Regions from separate parts of the Homo sapiens genome. Here regions 1 and 3 are each linked to region 2. The links are contacts of gene promoters, found by promoter capture Hi-C in blood cells and fetal thymus (Javierre and others, 2016). All regions are on one chromosome and are shown on one strand. The core of a region is centred on a gene start or on the middle of the fragment in contact, and the rest is flanking DNA. Distances in the headings are between cores, read along the strand shown.

Region 1 (3,910 bases), core at 1,191-3,690, 520 kb after region 2:
CTAAGTTTCCATTGCCCATGAAGGTTTGACTAAATGGGTCAAACCTCTCTACTGTGAATTTCTATTTCTATGATGGTTACAAAAGTAGTCTTTTAGAATACCTGTTTTTTGTAACTAACTTTGAAATCCAAACTAGGAGTGAAAATAGATTTTTTTTTCACTGCGTCCAGAAATACTTGATAGGGAAAAGAAGAAAAGAGATGATTTCTAATTTTTAAAGTGATTTTTGGGAAGTTTGATTAGTTCGTAAATATCTTGGGTTATCTAGAGAGTTATACATAATATCTGTAGGTGATACAGATAAATTTATTTTTATTTTTCTTTTTTAAATTTTTTTCTTTTTTTGAGACAGGATCTCGCTCTGTCACCCAGACTGGAGTGCGGTGCCATGATCACGGCTTGCTACCGCCTTGACCTCCTGGGCTCAAGCGATCCTTCCACCTCAGCCTCCCAAATGGCTAGGACTACAGGCACACGCCACCATACCTGCCTAATATTTGTATTTTTTGTAGATGTTTTGCCATGTTCTCCAGGCTGGTCTGGAAATCCTGGGCTCAAGCATTCCACCCATGTAGGCCTAGGCTTCCCAAAATGCTGGGATTAAAGGTGTGAGCCACTGTGCCCAGACCAGATAAATACATTTTTAAAAATTACTTAAATCACTTTGGTTGTATCAATTAAGGGGCTTGTTAGAATATTAGCACTATTTTTGATACCTAGTTGAAATTTTGGTATCTCCATGATTACATAAGGTGGCAAGAAGAGATTCAAAATGGGAAAGTATGTGGGACAGTATTGAACATTGTAACGATCAGGCCTAAAAGAGTCCTCACAGTAACACTGTGACTGGCTTAGGGATGGAGTTTATGTGGGACCCCGTAAGTGGAATAATTACTGACTCCTTGTCTAAAGCAGTTATTGGAGCAACACCCCAGAGTGAAGGCTTTAAGCACTGGTGAGATAACTCTGTCTTTCCTCTCCTCTTCTCCTGCTCTGTATTGTGTGTAGGGTGATGTTGGGCTCGCTATGGGGAAACTATATGGAAATGACTTCAGCCAAACTACCATCTCTCGATTTGAAGCCTTGAACCTCAGCTTTAAGAACATGTGCAAGTTGAAGCCACTTTTAGAGAAGTGGCTAAATGATGCAGGTAAGTGACTGTATAAGACATTTCTTTGTCATTCATTGGAATTTTACATGGGGATTGTTATATAAATTGGGGTTTATATTTCTTACTCTATTTTTGTTGTTACAGAACCTTGAAGCTTACTAATCCTGGGAGGATCATTATAAATTATGGTGATATAAATCAGAAAGCTGATTCATTTAAATATTCTAGTAATTACAGTATAAATAATTAGCCGTAATTTTTAGCCTGAAATACTCTTGTATTTGAGCCAGGATTAGGAACACACACACACACACACACACAGTTGAAGGAATAGGATAAGTAAGGCTTTTGTATTTAGATAAGCTTGAAGTAGAAGCTTATTGTTTCTTCCTTGATGAATTATCATAGAACTTGTTCTTGCAATAGTTCTGCTTTTGTTATTTCAAATGACCACACATTTCATTCAGAAAAGTTGGACTACTAGCTTTGTCTTACGTTTTTTTGTGCTGAGAGTTCCTTTTGGAAGATTGGAATTTTGAGTCACAGGATCATAGACTATGAAAGCTGTAGGAGTCATGTAGATCCCTTAAACTATGGTTCTTATTGTAGATATGAACAAAAATTAGGCCTTTGGAAAAGACAAACCTGAAACACGCATCCTTGGACAGTTTTATTCAGTAGCTATGGGTGAGGCCTAGGCATCTGTTTCCCAAGTCCACAGATAAGAACCACTGGTTTACTGTTTCCATCTTATTTTACGTGTAGCAGAAACAAACTCAGATGTGTATGACATGCCCAAGGTTATTAAACTGTGAAATTATAGAACCCTGTGATTTAACTTCAGAGAATTTATAAATATTTCATTTGTTTCTTTTCTTTTTACCCTAGATTATACCAATAAAATGAGAGGCCATTTACAAGATAAATATTAAACGTTCAGTAATTTCTAAGAAACTTTCTTCCTTTTATCCCCAGAACTTATAAACAAACAGAACTGGAGACATAGAGCTGAGTTTAAGGATAGGAATAGTAAACCTCTTCTGTCTCAGAAACAGAAATCCAAACATAGTGGTAATATTGTCAACCATCCTAGCAGAAAGAATGCCAATAAGGGCAGCAGAAATATCCATGGTAGTAAATATATATATATTGGGGGGATGGGTGGTGGGTAGGGGGAGACATGGTCTCACTCTGTTGTCCAGGCTGGAGTGCAGTGGCACCATCTCAGGTCACTGCAGCCTCCACCTCCCAGGTTCAAGTGATTCTCCTGCCTCAGCCTCCCAAGTAACTGGGACCACAGGCGCACGCCACTGTGCCCAGCTAATTTTTGTATTTTTGGTAGAGATGGGGTTTCACCATTTAGCCAGGCTGGTCTTGAACTCCTGACCTCAAGTGATCCTCCCGCCTCAGCCTCCCAAAGTGCTGGGATTACAGGTGTGAACCACCATGCCCGGCCAATAAGCAATATTGTAATGTAGGTTATGTGAAAACCTTTTCATACTTGGATGTAGCTTATTTTGTCAGTTTTGTTGTTAATATGCATATTATGCACATGAATCACTGTGCTCAGCTAATTTTATTTCTGTATTTTCTTCATTCTTACAGAGAACCTCTCATCTGATTCGTCCCTCTCCAGCCCAAGTGCCCTGAATTCTCCAGGAATTGAGGGCTTGAGCCGTAGGAGGAAGAAACGCACCAGCATAGAGACCAACATCCGTGTGGCCTTAGAGAAGAGTTTCTTGGAGGTCAGTGAGGATTTTACTTTTCTGTACATGGGATTGTCTGTGTAGTACTTAACATTAGTACTTAGTAGAAACTGTAGGTGGTAAAAGATGACATGTCAGCCTCTGCTCTTATGGATGATTATAAATAGGTGAAGTAAGTAAGTTACTAACATAGGAGACAGAACCAGAGTTCTGCAGGGTTCAGGAGAGACTAGAATCACATCCATGCAAGCACTCAGTATGAGAGAGGTGGCAGCTTACCATAGGATACATAGGAATTAATTCCACAGACTAGAAAAGGTGGGGGGAAAGTACTTTAAGCAGAGGAAATGCATGAGCGTTTCCCCCTCAGAGTGGGGGAGAAACACTGGAGTGAGGGAAACCATAGGGTGTATGAGGAGACACTCTAGTAGATTGGTTGGTTAAATTGTAGTGTCTGTATGCCTGGAATAGTAGTTTGGGACTGGAACACTAGAGACCTTGAGTGTTAGGCTATGGAGCTTAAGTTAATGCAAGAGATATTTGGCAATTATTTTTTTGTACCAGGTAATATCATAACAAAGCTTTTAAGAAAATTTTGACTTCTCTAATTCAGAAAAGACTTGAGCACATTGGGAGGACTCTGAATTAGGAGTTTTTGTCAGCTCTGCCACTTAAACTGTGTGATTGGGCAAATCATGTGATTTCTTTAAGCTAAAGGTCCTTCATTGTGAAATACCTGCCTTTCTTACTGTGAGATCCAAATTAGATAGCATGAAGCATGGAGAAAGGTTAAATTCCTACTAATACATGTGGTTGTACTGGTATTTTGTTAATTTCATTCACAATTAATAGATCTTAAAAATGAAAAACTATAGATATTTAAGGATAACTTATCCTAAGTTAATATGAATAAGTTTAATAGGTGTATGTTCATTAGAACTTCTATCTACACAATCTCTTTGTTGAAAGTGGCCTAATGTGGATGGTCATATGTATCCCAGCTTCATTTTCTAACCTGACGTGATTATGCCAGTAGTTCAAAAAGTTATTGCAAAGGATAGCTTTTGGAATTACATCTTTTCACCCTGCAGAA
Region 2 (3,702 bases), core at 120-2,619:
TATTATCTTGTTAGGATGAAAAGTAGACTGTCAACTCTGCCACCCCAAAATTTCACATGAAGGAAAAACTCCAAAATTCATGTATGACATCCAACCTAAGTAATTTCAATCCAGTAATAATAAAGAACAGAGAAGGATGAAAAGAAAGTATTGGAGAAAAATTAAGTATTCCCAAATTGCTCCTCCACCAACATCATTTAAAAGTATGCATCCACTGAGTAATGCAAATGTGTAGAATACCAGAGAAGCCATCTAGCAGCAACAACACAGGCACTGTAATTTTAAACGTTTATATTTGCTTCCTATATTTTTGAAAAATAAAGTTGTAATAACAACGTTTTGAAAATTTCCAAACTCTTCCTTGTATCCCAGAGGTTCCTTTTTTGCTCTTTGGCTTTGGCTTTGACTGGATACTGATTTTACCCTTGGCCATTCTGCACCTAACCTGACTGTGCACTAGGTCCCCTGCCATAACCTGGATGAAGGTCTGGCTGAGCGTCTCTGGGATCCTTTACAGCCCCTCTAATGCATCAGTCGGGAATCAAAAGCGTGGGTCCCAACTCTGACAGTGACTTTTGAAGAGTTACTTGTCCGCACTAGGTCTCAGTCTTCTCATCTGTCAAATGGGAATAACAACTGTACCTATCTCACATCTGTTGTAAGGATTAGATAATATATTTAGAGAGCTTAAAATGTTTAAAATGTCCGCTACTGCTATCATCACTATAATTGTAGTGTTCAATGACTGTGATTTCACCAGAGGGTCCGTCTGCCTTACGAAATTGCTGTCAAAAGAGCTTACCAATAATCCGTAGCAGATCACACCAGCTCAACAGGCCTCCACCTCCAGGAAGCCCTCCAGGGGCGGGCCGCCCTGCGCTATGCCCTCTGGCTGGACGCGTAGGGCTCCGGCTCACTCCGCCCAAGTCAGCCTCCCGCATCCCGCACGCCCGCGCTGGGGCCCGCACCTGCTCAGCAGGCCCTTGGGTGCGAAGTGCGCTTCTCCCGCCCCACCCAGGGCAGACAGTCCCGAGCAACGGCGCCCGCCGATGTCTCCCGGGCGCCCAGGAGGCCCGGTCTCTCCAGGGCGGTGAGTTCAGGTGGCCCGCCCCGCCCCGGCCGGAGAAACCCCGAAGCCCCGCCGCCGCGGACTCCAGGCTGCACAGGCCCCCGGGCGACGCGGGCGTCTCCGGGGCGGGCTGGCAGCCCGAGGCCAGGAGAGCACCCGCGTGTTGGCCTGGACGCTGTGCTAGGGCAGCTCTTACTGTTTCACGTTGTCCCCCAGGGCCTCGCTTAAGTTCTTCTTGGCCGCCTCCAGCTCGCTCACAAAGGTCGCCATTGCTCCGCGTGTCTCAGCCCGACCGCAGACCGCCCGGCCACCGCGATCAACAACCCAAAAACCAACTCGGCGGAAGGCCTTGGCTCTGGAAGCTAAGCCGGCCGCCGTCAGTCCCGCCCCCAATCTCTCAGAAGTCGTTTGTTTGGTTTTCGGCTCCGCCCGCCTTTTCGCAGGGAAGGTGCCCGGCCAAACTCTGCTCTCTTCCTCCCGCCCCTCGAGTCACGTGATCCGCTTCACCTTGTCGCGCGCCCATCCTAAACCCGCGCGCCCCGCCTCGGCTGCAACGTTGCTGACAGGCTGGCGTGTCCCAAGCTCTTTCATTCTGTTACCGCTGGGGCAATTCCGAATTCAGCCTGCTGTTCTTCTGCCTGGAGGAGTACCTTACCCCTCCATTTAAAAAAGTAAATGCAGTATCAGTTTTACTCTTTCCTTGCCTTATTTTTCCCCGAGCACTAACCGTCTCATATGACATTTAGTTGATTTATCTTGTAAATGTTATGGCTCGAGGACAGGAGTTGTGTTTTATTCACTGTTACCCGCAATTCTCTAGAGCAGCGCCTGGCACATAGTGGATGCTTAATAAGTATTTGAGTAAATGAGGTAACTATGTAAAATTTGGAAAATACACAGAAAGATAAAGATAAAAAGAAGGAAAAAGTGTTTTACCACTCCCGGACAAACACTTAACTGAGAGAGATTTCTCCTTCACTTCGCACACTCCCATGACTTAAAATATTCTATGTTCAATTTTGCACGTTTTTAAACTTAAGGATTTATCTGTAGTATTACATTGTCTTTAGAATAATTTTAATGACAACATATTAAATACCCCCACAGATAGAAGGTACACAACTTGTTTCCCAATTGTTAGACTGTGTCCATTTCTTCTCTATTAAAAAGCAATACTGTAATATTGCTTTTGAAGCATATAGCATAATGAAGCAAAACTTCTTTATGCATAAAACTTTTCCTCCTTTAGGATTATTACTTTAGCATAGAGTCCCACACATAGAATTACTGGATCAAATGATGGGAATATTTATAAATGCCTTGGTGTATATTGTCAAATTGCCTCCCAAAGTTTTTTAAATAATCCTAGATAGCTTTTAGATCTTGTGTAATTTCTCCAAAGATGTCCCCTTAAGTTCATTCATTCAACTTCCTCACTGCCCAACCTAAACCCACAAGCCCTGTCCTGGCTGCAATGCCAGCCGGGCACCTTCTCTTCACTTGAATTCATACAGTGAGCTCCTATTATGTGTCTGGAACTCTTTGAGTACTGGAGATACACAGGTGAAAGGAGATACAAAGGTCAGGCAAAGTCTTCCTCTCTGTGTCAAAACTCTGGGTAAGTTTTGACACATTTAAAAAATATCCACTTAAGTTTTCCATGGCTCCCCACGCTCTGCTGAACAAATTCCAGACTCCAGCATTCAAATGTTCTCATGATCTGAACTCACCCTACCTGTGTACCTCACACACCACTGGCCTTCCCACATAACCCCACACTTGGACTCAGCATTCTAGTTAACTTGACTTTAACAAATCACATGGCTCTTCCCCTTTACGCATATCTCCTCTCTGCTGGTTTTGAGACTTATGGTTGGCTACCTCCATTTTTTTTGAATCAGGTTCAAACATATATATGAATCTATTCAAGGATCAAGTCAACAGGACTAGGAAAGGCTACAGATAGTTGGGTACATCTTCCAGGAAGAATCCCTGTTTCTCATTTGTCTCTAGCCACGAAGAAAGATAGGCCTCAAAGATTTTCTTTTTGAACCCATGCTTGACAATACTCATACGTCTAGCTCAATTAAATATCCCTTTCTCTCTCAGCACTTATACACCTATTAACACTAATTTTACTACAGTTTTTCAGTTAAATGTCCATTTAAACTGTAATGTTAGACAATATAATATACATAAATGGACATCTGACCAAACAATTTAATATTGAGAGGTGAAGCCGCCTGGGCTTCTGGGCTGGGTGGGGACTTGGAGAACTTTTCTGACTAAAGGATTGTAAACGCACCAATCAGCGCTCTGTGTCTAGCTAAAGGTTTGTAAACGCACCAATCAGCACTCTGTAAAAACACACCAATCAGCGTTCTGTGTCTAGCTAAAGGTTTGTAAACGCACCAGTCAGCACTCTGTAAAAACACACCAATCAGCATTCTGTGTCTAGCTAAAGGTTTGTAAACGCACCAGTCAGCACTCTGTAAAAACGCACCAATCAGCGCTCTGTGTCTAGCTAAAGGTTTGTAAACGCACCAGTCAGCACTCTGTAAAAACGCACCAATCAGCGCTCTGTGTCTAGCTAAAGGTTTGTAAACGCACCAGTCAGCACTCTGTAAAAACGC
Region 3 (4,025 bases), core at 992-3,491, 750 kb after region 2:
ACCTACTCATGGCTGCCTAAACACAGCTCGGGGCTACCTCTTGGTCCCTCCCTCCCCGTTTTCCACCCCCTCCCTCAGGAGAAGTCCCAGTCTGGGGCCCAAATAGCTCTGGAGCAGCATTAAACTCTGCACTGGGGACCCAGGAGCATGGTGGAGGCCAAGCTTGTTTGCTTTGTGGTCATCTGTTCTCAGCCAAGAGAGGCCTAAGCAGGGCGTGGGGAGCAGCTGCAAGTCACCTTGGGTGACTGATGTTATCTAGGCCTAACGGTTTCCTCTGGGTAAGCACTTCCGCCCTCCTGTTTGTGAAGCCAGAAACCTGTGCTGGGGCAGCCCCATTCTGAGCACAAAGGAGGACTAGGTAGAGGGAGAAAGGAAAAGGCCCTGTGGAGCAGAGTTAGAAGACCTGATAGTAGACTATGCAGTCATCACTACGTCCTGCACCTTTAAAAAGAAAGGAAAGAAGCACGAGCAAAAGTGTGCCTTGCAGGTTACCAGTAAATACCCTTCCTTACTGCCGACTCTGCTCTCGAGTCTTCACCTGAGCAGCCATGTGGCTGGACTGGGAGGGGCCTCACTATTAATTCCTGGGAGTGAGGGCTCTTTTCACTGGGTCCCCGAGTGCCTGTCTCTAAATAAAAGAAATATCAGGCTCTTATTCATCTGAAGCTTGTACATGGGGCTAAGCATGATAAAAACAGCCACTTTTTGCAGAGTGCCTACTACATTGTATAGGTGAGGAAAATGAGAATCAGAGCAGTTAAGTGACTTGTCTAAAAAATACAACTAGAAAGTAGCAGAGCTGGAATTCAGCCCTCAATCTGTCTGTTCCTAAAACCAGGCGTCTTCCTCTATGCTTAGCTAAGCTAAAGAACTAGAAGCCACTCTGGCATTAGGGCTGCCAGTGTTTTAGAAAGTTGGGCCTTAGAAAGTTCTAGGACAGGAAGGAGGCCATATTTCTAAGACTGGTACCCAAAGCAGCAATCTAAGTGCCTGAAAGTGCAAAGATGGTGCCGGGATAACCAGAATCAGGGTAGTCTTTGTAGCAGGAGCAGACTCTCAGCCTTTTTTCTCTACTGTTTCTCCACATGTCTCTTCACAGTGCTCACCATCACCTGTCCCATTGCCCACCTCTGATGGGGCTCCCCTCCCCTGGTTGAGCTGGGGTTGGGCGGGTGAGAATGCTGTGGGATAACCCAGAGGCGTCATATACCCAGCCAATACCCTGGCACTCACAGGTCTCTCAAGGCATTTTCCTGTTTCTCTCTGCCGAAGGGTCTGAAGGGGGCCGGGATCCGGGTAGCAGGGAGTGACCCTGGTGCAGATTCCAGTCCCCGAATCCCTCCCATGCGGTCTCTGCTGCCCAGCCGGGATGGCCCTAAAGGAAGGTTGCTATGCTGGGCCCTATGGGAATCAGATGTTGAGCATCTTGCCCTTTGCTATATTTAACAGGAATGGAGACGAGGCCCTTTAGCAAGCAGCTTGTGGGAGCCAAAATTCCCACAAAACCGAATGCATCAGTCAAAGCAAGGTTTGAAGAAAAGATTTACCACTTCAGGGAGCTTGGAAAACTTTGCGTGGATTCCTGATTTTCCTCCTCCTCCTCCTCCTTCTACTCGTATACAGAAGATAGATGGATAGATGGATAGATAGTGGTTTCCTGGAAGGTGGAGAGGAAAAGAGGTGAGAAGGGAAAGGTGGTCCCGTCGGCGCCACGCTGAGCTCTGAAGCCTCGGTCAGAAGGGCTCCTCTTTTGGTAGAACACAAACGCCTTCCACCAGGGAGGGTCCTCGAACTCCACCCAAGAACTGCAGGGAAACCAGGTATGACAGTAATGCAATTTTAAAAAGAGGGAGAGGAAGAAGGAAAGCAGGAAGGATGGACACAAAAGAAGGAAATCGAAAAGAGAGGAAACAAAAAGAATTAAAGGACCACTCTAATTCTTGAAGGGACAGGAAAAAGAAAGAAGGCGCATTAAGGGAGGGAGACGTTGAGAAGGACTGAGACCGTGGCAAAGCCCAGGGTCCTGAGAAACTTCGCGAGACAGAGGGGCCCGGTGGCTGCCCATCCCCATGTTTGGGCACATGGAGTCGTGGCTCCCGCTCTTGAGTCCTGCCCTGGGAGGGACAGTATCTGTTTAGATTTGCGTCTAAATTTAAACCCTGATCGTCGGCCTCCCTCCCCGCTCCCCACCCTCCCCTCCCCTCCCCTTCCTCCCTCCCTCCCTCCTCCTCCTTCCTCGTTCTCTCGCGCAGGGCCCCCGCGGCCGGGGCAGTCCCGCAGCCGAGCGCAGCCGGGCGCGCGCCACCGCCCACTCGCCCTGTGCCCGCCGCAGCCCGAAACTGGCCACGGCCGGGAGCGGAGGGGACAGCGGGGATCGTGAGCTCCGGCCCGGGCGAGCGGGTGCGTCTGCCGCAGAGTCGGCACCTGAAGGACATGGAGGTAAAGGACCCCGGAGGGAGACGCGGGGCTGAGCGGTGAGCGGTGTATCGGGCGCCCCTTCCCCGGGCGGCTGCCCCTGCCCTGAGCATGGAGCACGCGGCTCATCGCTGCTGCCAACTAGAAGGGCAAATGCCTGCTGTTCCGACGCCTCCTTGACCAACTCCGAAGGATCGTCCCTGGTCCCACCTAGGACACCCGGGTTGGGAGGCTGGGGTTGGTAAGGAAAGATCTCAGAGGGAGAGAAAAGGGCTTTCCTAGAGGCCCGGGTATTTTGGCTAGGAACTTAAATGCTAAAAAAAAAAAAAAAAAAAAAAAAAAAAAAAAGTTAGGTGCAGCCAAGGTTTGTAAATGGGTAAACGTGTCAGCAAAAACTGCAAGAAGGCAGAAGCCCTTCAATCTGAAGAGATGGGTATTGAAAGAGAAACAGAACTGGCAACACGAGGCCAGCACGTCTTCGTGGGTCTGTGGGCTTCCCTTTTCGCTTTCGGAGTGGCATTTTAGAGAGTCCAGTTGTCTTCTTGCTTCTGAAGTCCTTCCTGTGTCTGTCGCATCTTCTTCCATAACTTTCTGAAAGCTCCCCTTACTGGTCAGTCGAATGACATTATTTCTGATAAAACTTAAGACTCCCTTGGACACCCTTGCCTCTGAAGCTGTGTGTATGGAGGTATGCTGGCCACATCTGCAGGCTTTGCCAGAGGGAGGCCCCGCACTTCTCTGCCTGCTGAGAGGAGGTCCGGGGACTTTCCTTGTTCTGTTCCAACCTCAGCAGAGGAGTGGTTGGGTGTATTCCCCACATCCCTCTCTTCTGCACATCTTGAGGCTTCCCTGTGTTTCCTCCTTGAAAATGAGACCTGATATGTAGCCCTAAGTCAATCTTAGTAGGACCTGGGGCTTTTGAGAAGATGCAAATGTTATATAGTTTTAAAGGTGATTCCCACTCATATTCAAAAGGAAACATGTGTTGCTCACTAGACTGTGGTCAGTGCAATCAGGATTCACAGTTAACTCCGCTATCTCTTCCCCGCTCCAGGCTCTGTGCCTGGGCCCTGGTGGTCTTTTTATTTTTTTCTTTTGAGACAGGGTCTCATTCTGTTACCCAGGCTGGAGTGCAGTGGCACAATCTCAGCTCACTGCAACCTCTGCCTCCCAGGCTCAAAGGATCCTCCCACCTCAGCCTCCCAAGTGGCTGGGACTACCAGTGTGTACCACCATGCCTGGCTAGTTTTAAAATTTTTTGTAGAGACAAGTTCTCACTATATTACCCATGCTGGTCTTGAACTCCTGGGCTCAAGTGATCCTCTAAGCCTTGGCCTCCCAAAGTGCTGGATTTGCAGGCATGAGCCACACCACTCCTGGCCCTGGTTGTGTTTTCTAAGCTAGACTCTGTGCTTGCCGGCAAAGCTTCATGACTTCTCTAAAGGGGCAATAAGTTTGTCCTTTAGAGAAGTCAGGGAGCTATATTCAGGCATCCAGCCCAGCCAGTTGTCTTCAAGGAACAGGGAATCACCTTCAAGGAGACTTTATAGACTGCAAGAACCACTGGAGTCTAATATGGACCCTCCACAGAAACATTTGCAAGGCCAGGA

What was found. Contacts are between HindIII fragments. The CHiCAGO score rates a contact against its expected background, and 5 or more counts as called.
Region 1: a fragment that was not itself captured here is called in contact with the fragment with the promoter of TADA1 in region 2 in 1 of 17 cell types (naive B cells); the score reaches 5.4 in naive B cells.
Region 3: the fragment with the promoter of RCSD1 here is called in contact with the fragment with the promoter of TADA1 in region 2 in 3 of 17 cell types (fetal thymus, activated CD4 T cells and monocytes); the score reaches 6.7 in fetal thymus.

Annotation. Positions count from the first base shown.
Region 1 is chr1:167,395,278-167,399,187 of GRCh38, forward strand. It overlaps POU2F1 (POU class 2 homeobox 1), which reads left to right. Exons shown (of 16, transcript NM_002697.4): 10 at 1,009-1,150; 11 at 2,717-2,856; 12 at 3,909-3,910. Among named protein-coding and RNA genes, the nearest start is that of CD247, 120 kb to the right of the region's middle. The HindIII fragment of the contact is 1,911 bases long and covers 1,486-3,396 here.
Region 2 is chr1:166,874,895-166,878,596 of GRCh38, forward strand. TADA1 (transcriptional adaptor 1) reads right to left here and starts at 1,370. Exons shown (of 8, transcript NM_053053.4): 1 at 1,266-1,370. The coding sequence starts at 1,339. RefSeq lists silencers at 827-1,226, 1,257-1,306 and an enhancer at 1,707-1,756. The HindIII fragment of the contact is 11,749 bases long and covers 1-3,702 here.
Region 3 is chr1:167,627,991-167,632,015 of GRCh38, forward strand. It overlaps RCSD1 (RCSD domain containing 1), which reads left to right and starts at 2,242. Exons shown (of 7, transcript NM_052862.4): 1 at 2,242-2,439. The coding sequence starts at 2,434. RefSeq lists enhancers at 71-130, 211-380, 391-440, 2,959-3,028 and silencers at 2,099-2,178, 2,199-2,418. The HindIII fragment of the contact is 3,174 bases long and covers 665-3,838 here.